Regions from separate parts of the Homo sapiens genome. Here regions 1, 2 and 3 are each linked to region 4. Evidence: promoter capture Hi-C in 16 types of primary human blood cells and fetal thymus (Javierre and others, 2016). All regions are on one chromosome and are shown on one strand. The core of a region is centred on a gene start or on the middle of the fragment in contact, and the rest is flanking DNA. Distances in the headings are between cores, read along the strand shown.

The links. Contacts are between HindIII fragments. The CHiCAGO score rates a contact against its expected background, and 5 or more counts as called.
Region 1: a fragment that was not itself captured here is called in contact with the fragment with the promoter of GCC2 in region 4 in 5 of 17 cell types (naive CD8 T cells, total CD8 T cells, total CD4 T cells and 2 more); the score reaches 6.8 in naive CD8 T cells.
Region 2: a fragment that was not itself captured here is called in contact with the fragment with the promoter of GCC2 in region 4 in 1 of 17 cell types (monocytes); the score reaches 6.0 in monocytes.
Region 3: a fragment that was not itself captured here is called in contact with the fragment with the promoter of GCC2 in region 4 in 1 of 17 cell types (total CD4 T cells); the score reaches 5.0 in total CD4 T cells.

The regions. Positions count from the first base shown.
Region 1 is chr2:108,761,891-108,765,306 of GRCh38, reverse strand. RANBP2 (RAN binding protein 2) reads right to left here. Exons shown (of 29, transcript NM_006267.5): 19 at 3,112-3,206; 20 at 1-2,070. Among named protein-coding and RNA genes, the nearest start is that of CCDC138, 23 kb to the left of the region's middle. The HindIII fragment of the contact is 1,896 bases long and covers 407-2,302 here.
Region 2 is chr2:108,801,868-108,805,168 of GRCh38, reverse strand. It overlaps CCDC138 (coiled-coil domain containing 138), which reads right to left. Exons shown (of 15, transcript NM_144978.3): 7 at 161-280. It also overlaps a transcript of RANBP2 not described here. Among named protein-coding and RNA genes, the nearest start is that of CCDC138, 17 kb to the right of the region's middle. The HindIII fragment of the contact is 1,116 bases long and covers 960-2,075 here.
Region 3 is chr2:108,715,778-108,719,180 of GRCh38, reverse strand. No RefSeq gene overlaps it. Among named protein-coding and RNA genes, the nearest start is that of RANBP2, 2.0 kb to the left of the region's middle. RefSeq lists an enhancer at 1-756. The HindIII fragment of the contact is 8,304 bases long and covers 1-3,403 here.
Region 4 is chr2:108,446,837-108,450,463 of GRCh38, reverse strand. It overlaps GCC2 (GRIP and coiled-coil domain containing 2), which reads right to left and starts at 1,258. Exons shown (of 23, transcript NM_181453.4): 1 at 1,184-1,258; 2 at 775-831. The coding sequence starts at 1,189. RefSeq lists enhancers at 1-268, 354-1,335, 1,172-1,431, 1,336-2,318. The HindIII fragment of the contact is 5,578 bases long and covers 280-3,627 here.

The DNA.
Region 1 (3,416 bases), core at 105-2,604, 310 kb before region 4:
TGAAGTACCAAACTTAAAAGAGGCAGGAGCTGGAACAGAAGTAGATGGACTTGGTTTATCCGGATTCTGACAAGCAACACATCTTGTAGCATTTGCTTCATTTCGCACTAAGCATGAACTGCAATCCCACTGTCCTTCCTTCTTAGCAAACATGTCTTCAAATCCACTTTTTAGAGTTTTACTTGTCTCTGAAGTACCAAACTTAAAAGAGGCAGGTGTTGGAATAGAAGTAGCAGGTAGACTCTGTTTTCTCGGATTCTGACAAGCAGCACATTTTGTAGAGCTCCCCTCATTTTGTACCAAACATGCACTGCAATCCCACTGTCCTTCCTTTGTAGAAAAAACAGATCTGAAATCACTGTTAATAGGTTTAGGAAGATCTCCCTGGCCAAATTTAAATGAAGCTTGATGAACAAATGAAGATCCACTTTTGTTAGCAGATTTTGTATTCTGACACGCAATGCACCTAGATACAGTAGGTTCATTTCTTACTAAACAAATACTACAATCCCAGTGACCTTCTTTCTTTGGAGTCACCAATGCAAATCGATCTTGAACATTCTCTGGGCTGGTTTTAGGAGTAAAAACAGTTTCAGCTAATGGTGGGCCAACGAGCTCTTTATTGCTTGGGTTTAGATTTTGGCATGATACACATTTCTTAGCAGTTGAAGCATTCTTTAATGAGCAGCTGTTACAATGCCACCAAGACCCTTCTTTCTTTGCAACCTGAAATTCAAAATTCAGGTTTCCAGCATCAGATTTGCAAATATCCTTGTTATCATGACTTGTGGGTTCTTTTACAATTCTGACAGCCTGATTTGACGCCATGGCTACATTTGTTCCTGGGGCTTTTAAAATGCTCTGGGCTTCTTCAAACTTGCATTTAAAAAGTGCTGCTTCCTCAGGAGTTTTGAACCTAATAGCAAGTTGTTCTGGTTTTGGCAACTCATCTGCATAATCAAGGGCATGCCATACAAAAGATCTGTCTGATCCAGCATTTGGTGTCAATTTCATATCTGGACTGATGTAATGATTTGCACAGATTTTCAATACTTGCTCTCGTCTCATTAGAAGGCGAATTTTACCAGATGTTTTATGCCTCAGTATTTTTACATTGCCAATCCCACGTTCTTTCCATTCTTTGGATTCTACATCGAAACGAAACAATTTCGCGCGGTTGCAAAAGAATTCTTCTTCATCTTCCTCACCAGTTTTTACTTCAATCTTATCAGGAAGAGGTACTACAGGCTCAAAGTGAGGACCGTCATCATCATCATCCCCATGGGCACTTCCTCCATCTGTCTCATGATTCTTGTTTGCTGTCTCTAAAGTGGGTGTTCCAAATACTGATTTCCCTGGACCATGGAAAGTAAACATATCATCACTTCGCCGAAAACCAGAATTCTTTTGCTGACTCGACCCCATGTTTTCTGTAAATGAAATTCCAGACACATTTTTGCTTCCAAAATTGAATGTATTTCGAGGCCCAATGGTTTGACCACCAGGAATTGGTTTGGCTCCACTATAGCCATCTCCTTGCAAGGGTTTATCTGAAGTCAGGAGACCTAAAAGGCTTTCACTGTTACTGTAAGCTGCAGGAGGGGGCTGTGTCACAACCTGTGGTGAGGAAAACGTGAAGTCACCATCATTTGATTTGAAATTTGAGTTAAATTTAAAAGGAGTTGGCTGTGTTGTGTGTGCTTGTGTTGGCAAAGATGGCCTTAATCCTTCACCCGGCATGGGCTGAACAAAATTAGTTTTCCCAAATTCTATAGTCTTAGATTCTGCAGATCTTGAAGCATGAGCTGCAATCGGAGGTTTTGTGAAATATCCTGGTTCTGGCAAAGGTGGATTTGTGCTTGTCTGTTGAACATTGTAATTAAAGTAATCATCACCCCTGGGCGATAGAATTCCCGTTGCAGGAGACTCAAAACGCAATGCAGGAGGACCATACATCTCCTGAGAGAACATACAAGCAGATGAGCTTTGCACTGGCGGTGTGTGCATCTGTTGCGGATAGGCATAAATATGCTGTTGGGGTGGAAGCCTATTCATGCCATAGACTGGGCCCTAAAAGACAGAAAGTTAAAACATTTTGTAGATTGTCTACAAAACTACAGATAACTAAATGCAAACCAATTCTCACAAACTTCAAACATGAATATGAAGTGAAGAAGATCTCATTAGGGGATGTAGTACACATCATTAACCCGTTTATGCCAGAGGCTGCAAATTTTCTGTGTGAAAAATCAGACCTTGGCAATGACCTTGAGCAGTAGGATATAAATAACTCCCATAAGCTTAGTGTTCCAATAATGGAGCACTAGGCATAAGTAGGTTAAGAGAAAACCACATTACTACAAAGATACTTGCATATATACTTGGCATATAATGAAAATTATGTATAGCATCTTAAAATCTACAGCTAAAGTCATAAAATAAATACCTTCTTCATTCCTAATTTATCAAATGATGTTAATGATGATGATGATGATGATGATGATGATGGTAACATTTATTGAGCATTTATTAATGTGCCAGCTGGGCACTGTTCTAAGCACTTTACATTATTATCTCATTTTAATATCCTCAAAAACCCTATGAATTAAGGTATTATTATTATCCTCATTTTACATATGAGGCAACTGATGCATTGAGAGGTTAAGAAACTTGCCTGTGGTCAAAATAAGCAGAAGAGCAAGGGTCTAAATGCACCCCAACACTCTGTCCTCAAAGCTGTCACATTCAACTACCACTGTAATATTGAGTCTTCAATCAATTGTTATATATATAGCTGTATCAGGCCTGAAAGTACTTACCACATAGTGGGTCAGCAAGGGCATTACAGTTCTATTTCTGTTAAAACAGAACGATGAAGGATCCACCACCACCACTCCCATTTTTAAAATATTCTAAATATTCACACTTATTAACACAAAAATAAGGTGACTAAGAAGGATAATTTCTGTATTTGGAGATAAATTTAAAATATCTACATTTTAAGGGACATAAAAGTTTTAATAGTGAACTGCTCTCTTGAATTTATTTGAAGGAACCCTAAACAATTTAAAAAGGAAATAATTATAAATGTATAAATTATTCCTTTGTTACCTTTGTGGGAGTAACATTAGCTGCTGGTCTGAGAAGATACTGGGAATTATATGCTGGTGACTGACTATAATATACTGAAGGGCCAGTAGTTGCAACTAAAAAAACAAAAAGAAAATAAAGAAAACACTGTTAAAGTCTATACTACAGTTAAGACTATCTAGGCAAGAGCTATAAATACAAAGGCAATAGAAATTAAAGAAAGATTTAACTACATAAATTTTAAATTTCTGTACATCAAAATACACCAATCAAGATTATCAAATGACAAACTAGAAAAAAACTGCTAAATATGACATGAAGAATAA
Region 2 (3,301 bases), core at 268-2,767, 350 kb before region 4:
ATACTTTATTTACATTTGGAAGTATTTTAAAATAAAGCTAACAAATGTAATCCAAATTTTCTCTAGCTGAAACGTGTTCTAAGGCTGACTTTAATTTGTTATATATAAAATATACTTCTTAGAATGTCTTATGTTCAGTATATATTAAAACAGGTCTTACCTGTTTTTTTAAGGTATCATTCAATTCTTTCAATGCATCAAAAGAGGACCTCAGTCTCTTGGTTTCTTTATTCTTTTCCTTAAGAACTTCGGTTAAGTGTTCAACTTCTGCATCATGCTGCTAGGAGGAGAAAAAAAAAACTCTCATCTAAAACTTGTAAGGACTGTATATCACTAATACTATGGAACGTGAATTAATTACAAGTAAGAACTCCTTCAATCACAAAAACTTTAATCAGTGTATGCAAGCACAAGTGACTAGTGTGGCAAGTAATTTATAAAAACCATGCAATCTACCAAGATAACAACAAAACATCAAAGGCATTTACAACATACTTATTAAAACATATTAGCATTTACAAAGTAGCAATGAGTCTATTTTCTGCTTCTGCTCAGAAAAATCCACTCACACAAACTCATGGAAATATTTTCTTTGACATCATGGAATAATAAAACAGTAAAGAATTTCTGATACTCTTCAAGAGATAAGCTATTTATGGCTTTATAAAGTGTATAATTTACATTACCTTTGAGAAATGAAAGAAATCTTTCATAAAACCAACTAATTTCTTGTCCTCATAAAGCAGCTAAAATTTTTGATGCCTGCTTTTCATCTCAAAATATGTTAGATACATAATAAAATTTCTTAGCCCCAAACTATTTGACTCTTCTTAATCAGTTCTATAAATAATTCAAATCAACTTCCCCTCTAATTACATTTAAATGGGATAGCATGTTTTAGATTTTAAATGTGAATACTTAATAGTTTCACCTTTCACTTTCAACTTACTTATAAAGCTTTAAAACAAGTTTCTACAGGAAATCAAAAAATTGAATTAATTCCCTTCTTCCAAGTAGTGATATAAATACGATGAAAATAAGGCAGTTATCCTTATACTTAATAAAAATAGATACACAAATCTAAAGAGAATCAAGAATAAGACAAAAATGGAGAGATCAGAGAATCTAAGCATTCTTTAGCCCTGTGAAAAAAATCCAATATTCTAAGAAGTTAATCTTTGTATGACTTTATTACTATATTGATTCCTTAAATAACTTAGGATATAGTCACAAATACAGTTATTTTTAAAACTAATATTTTCATTGTCCAACTTTTTCCATATCTAAAAGATACTAAAAACATATGCATTCCATTTCTAGCACAGCAGGATAAGCTCAATACACTCTTCTCCCACTGATTATAGCTAAAAGCCCTAAATAAACCATAAAACAACTAACTGACAACTGTGAAAAGAAAAAAGGGGAGGACATTGTGATGGGAGAGAAAACTTGTAGAAGCAACCCTCAAGGGTAAAGTTTCCTGCATTTTTGTTTTTGCTCTTCTCTCAACATTTTGCCTCAGGGTGGGTCCCAGACATGGAGAAGTAGAACAAAAACTTCCACTAGCTGGGCACAGTGGTGCACATCTGTAGTCCCAGGCACTCAGGAGGCTGAGGGAGGAAGATGACTTGAGGGTGCAGTGAGCTATGATGACGTCTGTGCATAGCCACTGCGCTCCAGCCTGGGCAACACAGCAAGACTCTGTCTCTAAAACAATTAAAAAAAAATTTTTTTTTAATTTCCACTAAAGCTCTAAAAAATGTCCACTAAAGAAATGAGAGAAAACCAGTCTTCCTGGCAAGATAATCAGGAAGAGGGGCCTCTATGAGCCAGAGTGTGGGGAGAATCCCGCAGAAGAGAGACTCAAACAGAGGATCCTCTCACTCTGGTGTTTACGAACCTGTACAAATTGGGCTCAACTTTGAGCCGCTCAGGCGGGCACAGGACAGACCAAAAGCAGTAGAGCAAACGCTTGGAGAATGGAGCTCAGTTTAAAACTATTACCTAAGTCTTGGCTAACACTTTAATGCCTCTTTACCTGCACAAAAAACACCCAGAGCAGCATAGCAAAAGCTTTGAGAAATGCATTAGGATTTTAAACTGTTACCCAAGTCTCAGACCAACCTTTAAGAGGCACAGGCACAAGACAACTCCACAGCAACATTGCAAAGGCTTTGAAAGCAAAGTGGGCTTCATCCCTGGGATGCAAGGCTGGTTCAATATACGCAAATCAATAAATGTAATCCAGCATATAAACAGAGCCAAAGACAAAAACCACGTGATTATCTCAACAGATGCAGAAAAAGCCTTTGACAAAATTCAACAACCCTTCATGCTGAAAACTCTCAATAAATTAGGTATTGATGGGACGTATTTCAAAATAATAAGAGCTATCTATGACAAACCCACAGCCGATATCATACTGAATGGGCAAAAACTGGAAGCATTCCCTTTGAAAACTGGCACAAGACAGGGATGCCTTCTCTCACCACTCCTATTCAACATAGTGTTGGAAGTTCTGGCCAGGGCAATCAGGCAGGAGAAGGAAATAAAAGGTATTCAGTTAGGAAAAGAGGAAGTCAAATTGTCCCTGTTTGCAGACGACATGATTGTTTATCTAGAAAACCCTATCGTCTCAGCCCAAAATCTCCTTAAGCTGATAAGCAACTTCAGCAAAGTCTCAGGATACAAAATCAATGTACAAAAATCACAAGCATTCTTATACACCAACAACAGACAAACAGAGAGCCACATCATGAGTGAACTCCCATTCACAATTGCTTCAAAGAGAATAAAATACCTAGGAATCCAACTTACAAGGGATGTGAAGGACCTCTTCAAGGAGAACTACAAACCACTGCTCAAGGAAATAAAAGAGGATACAAACAAATGGAAGAACATTCCATGCTCATGGGTAGGAAGAATCAATATCGTGAAAATGGCCATACTGCCCAAGGTAATTTACAGATTCAATGCCATCCCCATCAAGCTACCAATGACTTTCTTCACAGAATTGGAAAAACCTACTTTAAAGTTCATATGGAACCAAAAAAGAGCCCGCATCGCCAAGTCAATCCTAAGCCAAAAGAACAAAGCTGGAGCCATCACACTACCTGACTTCAAACTATACTACAAGGCTACAGTAACCAAAACAGCATGGTACTGGTACCAAAACAGAGATATAGATCAATGGAACAGAACAGAGCCCTCAGAAATAACGCCGCATACCTACAACTATCTGATCTTTGACAAACCTGAGAAAAACAAGCAATGGGGAAAGGATTCCCTATTTAATAAATGG
Region 3 (3,403 bases), core at 28-2,527, 270 kb before region 4:
TTGGTGAACGTGTAAATTGGAACAAAGTTTCTGGAGATGACTGGTTAAATACGTTGCATCGGACATGTGTGAATACTAAAGCATACATTTTTAAATTCATATCTTATTAAATGAGGGCCAGGCGTGGTGGCTCACGCCTGTAATCCCAGCACTTTGAGAGGCCACGGCGGGCGGATCATGAGGTCAGGAAATCGAGACCATCCTGGCTAGCACAGGGAAACCCCATCTCTACCAAAAATACAAAAAATTAGCCGGCCGTGGTGTCGGACGCCTGTAGTCCCAGCTACTCCGGAGGCTAAGGCAGGAGAATCGCTTGAACCCGGGAGGCGGAGGTTGCAGTGAGCCGAGATTGCGCCGTCTGGGCGACAGAGGGAGACTCCGTCTGAATTTAAAAAAAAAAAAAAAGGGAGATTTAGAACTGCATAATGAAAAAGACCACAAATATTAAGTTTTGGACAATTACAATTTTTTAAACAGTCATCTCGGCGGGGGATTGGTTCCAGAACCACCGTCTTATGCCAAAATCCACGCATTCCGCCGGGCGCTGTGGTTCACGCCTGTAATCCCAGCACTTTGGGAGGCCGAGGCGGGCGGATCACCTGAGGTCAGGAGTTCGAAACCAGCCTGGCCAACATGGCGAAAGCCCATCTCTACTAAAAATACAAAAAATTACCTGGGCGTGGAGGTGGGCCCCTATAATCCCAGCTACTCGGGAGGCTGAGGCACGAGAATCGCTTGAAACTGAGAGGCGAGGGTTACAGTGAGCTGAGATCGCGCCACTGCACTCAAGCCTGGGCGAGAGTAAGACTTCCTAAAAAAAAAAAGAAGAAGAAGAAGTCCGCGCATTCTCAAATCCCGCAGTCAGTCCTGCGGGTGGAACACTTAGAGGAAAAGTCAGACCTCTCTATATGCAGGCCCCTCCAATACTGTATTTTCTGTCGGCTTATAAGCGGGCCCAGGCAGTTCAAACCCATGTTATTCAAGGGTCAACTGTGTATATAGGAATAGCCATTCGCCTGGCACAGTGGCTTAAGCTGGTAGCCCCAGCACTTTGGGAGGTCGAGGCGGGAGGATCCCTCGAGTCCAGGAGTTCCAGGTTACAATGAACTGTGATAGCGCCACTGCATTCCATCCTGGGCACCAGAGTGAGACCCTTGTCTCAAAAAAAAAAAAAAAAAGGAAAAGGAATAGCCCCCCCAAATCTATATATATTTCACTAGCAGAATAACAGAACATACCAAAATTTAACAGTAATAATGTAAAGATTTTGAGCCGTCTGTATTTTCCAAATCTTCAAAAATGTCTATTTTGGGAATTTGGATATTAAAATCTTACTTTTAAAACAAAATTTAACAAAACATTTTTAATAGTGAGAACCTTTTAGATTTTAAAAGCTCACATTTGTGTAAACATTACAGTCTGAATTATGTGGACAAATATCAAATGCGTTGACATTTTTAACTGGAAATTTGGGCTATTTTGGTTGTGGATAATTTTTTATCCTTTTTGTTTTTCCATATTTTCTAAATTTTGATATAATGAACAAGTATTGCCTTTCTAAAAAAGGAAAAACAGCATTTTGTTTTATTTCAACAATATTGGATGTGAATAAAAGAAAAGAAAAAGATGATTCTGAGCTTACCAGTGTGTGTGACCCACATTAACAGAAATGACATGTAAAGAAAATCTAGTTTGGAGTGGAAAATCCTATTTTAGGTAGTTGATTTCTTTCACTTGAGGTACCATTTATATATCCATGTGGGGATAGCCTAGTAGGAAGATGAAATGGTAGGACAGAGATCTTGATGGAAGTCAGTAGTTGCGGCACAGTTCTGAGGCCCAGCTACTCCAAAGGCAGAGGGGGAAACATCCCTTTAGCCCAGGATTGGAGACTGCAATGAGTTATGTTCATGCCTTTGCACTCCAGCCTGTGGAAGAGAATGAGATTCCTATCTCTAAAACGAAAAGAGGGCCAGGCACGATGGCTCACGCCTGTAATCCCAGCACACTGGGAGGCCCAGATGGGCTGATTGCTTGAGGCCAGGAGTTCAAGGCCAGCCTGGCCAACGTGTTGAAACCCTATCTCTACTAAAAATGCAAAAATTAACTGGGTATGGTGGTGCATGCCTGTAATCCCAGCTTCTTTGGATGGCTGAGGCACCTGAATTGCTTGAACCTGGGAGGTGGAGGTTGCAGTGAGCTGAGATCGTGCCAGTGCACTCTAGCCTGGGCAACAGAGCAGACTCTGTCTCAAAATAATAATAATAATAATATTTAATTAATTTAAAAATAAAAACCAAAAGAGAAGATCTGATGGACTTAAAAGTCATATATCTCAGGTGATAGGTGAAACCACAAGTTTGCCTTGAAAAGTGTGTTGATAACAATAGCCATAGCTAACAAGTACTTGCTGTGTTCCAAAGCTCTTTCTGTTAGCACTTCATTTGTATTAATATCATTCTTCCACCAACTTTGTAAGGGTACTGTTATTATCCTCAGTTTTTACAGATAAGGAAAGCAAAAGACAGCCAGGCACCATGGCTCATGCCTGTAATCCAAAACTTTGGGAGGCTGAGGTGGGAGGATCACTTGAGCCCAGTAGTTCAAGACCTGCCTGGGCAACATAGCAACACCCTGTGCTTACAAAAAAAAAGAAATTAAAAACTAGCCAGGCATGGTGGTGCCTGCCAGTAGTCCCAGCTATTTGGGAGACTGAAGCAGGAGGATCTCTTGAGGCTAGGTGTTGGAGGCTGCAGTGAGCTATGTTCACTCCACTGCACTCCAGCTTAGGTGACAGAGAAAGACCCTGTCTCCAAAAAAAAAAAAAAAAAAAGGAAACCAAGAGAATGAGCACTGAAGCAACTTGCCCAAACATACTCACCTAGTAAAAATGGTATCATTAATCCATTTATGTTGAATATATCGAAAAGGAGTGCCCAAAGAGAGAACCTTCTTTTTCCTTCTTTCTTTTTTTTTTTTTTTTGAGACGGAGTTTCACTCTGTGGTCCAGGTTGGACTGCAGTGGCACAATCTCGGCTCACTGCAACCTCTGCCTCCCAGGTTCAAGCAATTCTTGTGCCTCAGCCTCCTGAGTAGCTGGGATTACAGGTACATGCCATCACACCCGGGTTATTGTTGTATTTTTAGTAGAGACGGGGTTTCACCGTGTTGGACAGGCTGGTCTTGAACTCCTGGCCTCCAGTGATCCATCTGCCTCGGCCTCCCAAAGTGCTCGGATACAGGTGCCCGGCATCCACCGCGCCCAGCATCCAAAGAGAGAATCTTCTTGAGGAACTCAAAAGACTTTTCTCTTTTGGATAAGCAGTTCATATTTCTGCATTTATTAGGGATTTTCACATTTTACTTCATTTTACACTACATTTTTTTTTTGTTCAGTGGTATA
Region 4 (3,627 bases), core at 9-2,508:
TAGCTTTTGATTTAATTGTAAAATCAGTAGGTTGGAGCTAATGCTACTTAAAATTCCTTGGAGCTGTAAAATTATTTCATTCTATTCAAGGCTGCAAGTCTTTGGTCACAAGAAAATTTACGCATAATTACAGCAGCAAGATGAACCGGGTAACATTCAGGCTTTAATTAAAAAATTGAGCTTTACCACTTGAGAAAATTGCTTAAGCCTGTGGTCTCAGGTTTCTCATCTGTAAAAGGAGGGTAACAACAGTACCTATCTCATGGTTATCATGAAGCTTAAACGAAGGAACTGAGTGGTTAGGCAAGCGCCAGAAATTTAGCATGCACACAATAAACCTTAGCAATAAACCACTATCATTTAGAATGATTGAATGTTAAACATTGTACAGGGCCATAAAACTGGACTAATTAAACTCTTTGGCAATGTAGAAACTGGAGCCCACAGATCAGAATCCCTTGATTCCTACCCTATGTCACTGCTCCTTCCACTACACCACTATATAAACCTTCTTAGACTGCTTTATGTTCGAAAAATAGCAGGATCTCCCAGCAGTGCTAACCAGGAGCAGGAAGCAAACAAAAAGTCTTTCTATATCGGGGTGGGCGGGGGAGAAACAGGAAATGGGCGATTGCGCACACTAAAATTGAGATCCCTTGGAGCAAGGCTATTAAAAAAAAAAAAATCAGCGCCCCCCCCTTCCCCATGCCAAAGTTTTCCAATTCATCACCCTTCCACTCTTCAGGAAGCCCGCTATTCAAGTATTCTCTTCACCTTAGATTTCCCGGTCCCAGGGGTAGCTGGTGAAGCCACCCCATCTTGAACAAGATCCTGCAAAACAAAATCAAACCCAGGTGTCAGAAGAACTCTTTTCCTAATTCCACACGGAACGCGTAGAACCCTTACAGGGAAAAACCTTCTATGGAATCAAGTGGTGGAAAGCCTCGTGAGACAGAGAATGAGGGCGGACGGAGGCGGTCGCTGTGGCAATTCGTACACAAACGGGCTCTACGGGGCAGGTAACCCCCAGGGATAGAGTTTACGAAAGATGGGGAGGCGACAGCAGCGCGGGCTTCGGGACACCAAGAGGGAGACTACCGCGCCCTCCCATCGGGCCCACTCCCACATCCCAAATCGCGGCGCGGAAGGCTTGATGGGAGGCAGTGGGCCCGACCTGAGTTACCTCCATCTCCGCCAGCCCGCCGCCGGCCCGCAACCAGCCGCCGCCACCGCTGCACTTCTGTTTGCGCCAGCCTCTGACGTAGGCTCTACTGCAGGTCAAAGGTCGCGCTCTCCGGGCGGCCCGCCCCCCACGTCTCCATAGCTACAGCTCGGCAGCACTTCCGCTTCCGTGTCTGCGTCCGGGAGAAGGTTCCCCGTACGGCGCTAAGGGCGGAGTCCGTCTAGACGTTCTACCTGGGGCTCGACCCCTGGGCCTGCAGGTCACGGAGTAGGTGTGGGTCCCGCCACTGCCGGTTATTGGCATGGGAAGGCGGGCCGATTACCCCTTGGGGCCTCGGGCCTCGGTTTCCACGTCTGTAAAATCTTGTGAGAGTGAGGAACATTGGATTGCAGGACAGGTCTCTCAGTCCTCCAAAGGTGTCCGCTAGCCTGCGAGTGCCTGCGGGACCCACAGCTGGTTCCGGGGGGCTCCTTAGGCATTTGTGGCCAGCATGGTGCCCGGGAGCTCCGTGACTCACAGGTCAGGGATGCGGTAGAGGGCTTCCCTGAGGAGGCATTTCTTGACTCTGGAGGCTGTGAGGAGGTCCCTGGACAGCTCTGCCCTGCAGCCGCCCGGTACTGATGGTGATGTGGTGGAGGCAAGATAGTCGGCCAGGGAACTGGGCAGCCGTGGGAGGAGACTCTGTAGAGTAGGGGGCCCGAGGCCACCCTTTCCCGAAGGGCACGCCAGAGAATCTGTGGTCGAATCCCAGAGCTGCTGCTGTGTCCTGATTGGCGGTCCAGTGCTCTGAGAGCCTTTCTGTTAACTGCTGAAGTGGTTTGCTGCGCTTTCACCTTCCCATTAATGTTTTCCATACACTCCCATAACTAAGGTAACCTGAAGATAACCTAGTTTCCTGTAGTTTAAATGGTCAAAAGGTTGAAGAGGCAGCACACAGTATGTATCGAGTAAATGGTAGCTGATTATTACTAGGTAAAAGAAGTGTTATAAACGAGAAAGAACAGCTATTGTGGACATCTACTCTTTGTCTTTGACAGTGTGTATCACCTATGGTGTTTGTAGGATTGGTTCAGGGGTGGTGTGTGACCTAAGATGTACAGTCTCCACGTACAGTAACACACGTGTGTGTGTACACGTGTGTGTGTACACGTGTGTGTGTGCACGTGTGTGTGTGCACGTGTGCGCGCACGTGTGTGTGCACGTGTGTGTACACACATATATGCACACACATGTATACACACACACACACACAATCCCCAAGTATACATTGTTATTAATGGTCCAGATTAATGCCATTCAAAGTAGTTCCCCAAGTTAAGAGCAACTTACGGTAGACTCCTATTTCAATTAATAACTTGAAAAAATCACTTGCAATAAAATAGCAGGTTAACTAGATACTACACACATTCCAATCCTGTAAAAGTTTCTCAGAGAAACACTGTTAGATATAGTTACATTCCAGGAGTTTGGCTACATCAATAGCTACAGAAGAGTTGATGTTCTCACAGTAGAACTCTCTTTTTCTCATACTTGAAATAAAAAAGAACCTTTCTTTTCTTCCTTTGATCTTTCTTCCCTCGCCAGCCCTCCATTGCACTTGGCTGGGTAACAGGGTCCATGAGTTGCAGCTACAGGTAGGGCAGCGTCTCCTGGGAATCCCCAGGGAGATGAGGGTCAGCACACCCCTAAGCTCCAGGTCATCAGCGGCCTCCTCACACAGCTCGAGCTCACCCCCATCTGCCTTCCTGGTTGTCATTGGACAGGAATTTTATTTTCTGAGATGATGGAGGCAGGTATAATGTTCTTGACCATCGGATACCTTCTGTTGTTGTTCCTCTTAAGGAAGAAATCATTTATTTCTTCCTTCACTAGTTATAGTAAGTGCTGAAATCTTCTAAATATATTTATCATCTTTCATACTTTAAAGAATGAATATTTATGAATTGATTGTGAGTACTCTGAGATCTTCTGATATTCATAAACCTATAGGAAAGATCTGCTTTATATTTCACATTCTCTGGACTGCAGATAAGTTCACATTTTAAAGATGTATATTACCTTAATGAGCAGAACTATGACCTGTTTAACGAATATGTTTCTTTCCAATTGTAAAAGTAACACAGGTTCATTGTAGAACACCTGGAAAATATAGGAAAATTCCGAAAAGAAAATAAAAATCACCTTGAATCATTTATGGAAATAGAAAATAGGAACAATGTTAATAACAATGTCAATAATATGTGCTGTGCTGGTCACATTGTATAGTAGATGGAGACTGCTGTATGTTAACCAGCACTACTGAAACATAATATAATTTGAGCAAGTTGCAGGGTCTTGCCTAAGTAAAAATAGCTTCTTTACCAGTTTGGAATGGTGCCAACATGCCATTATCTCCTGAAGAGCCACATTAAAAGGCACCTGTTGCTTAGGGATGGTCCGGAGAG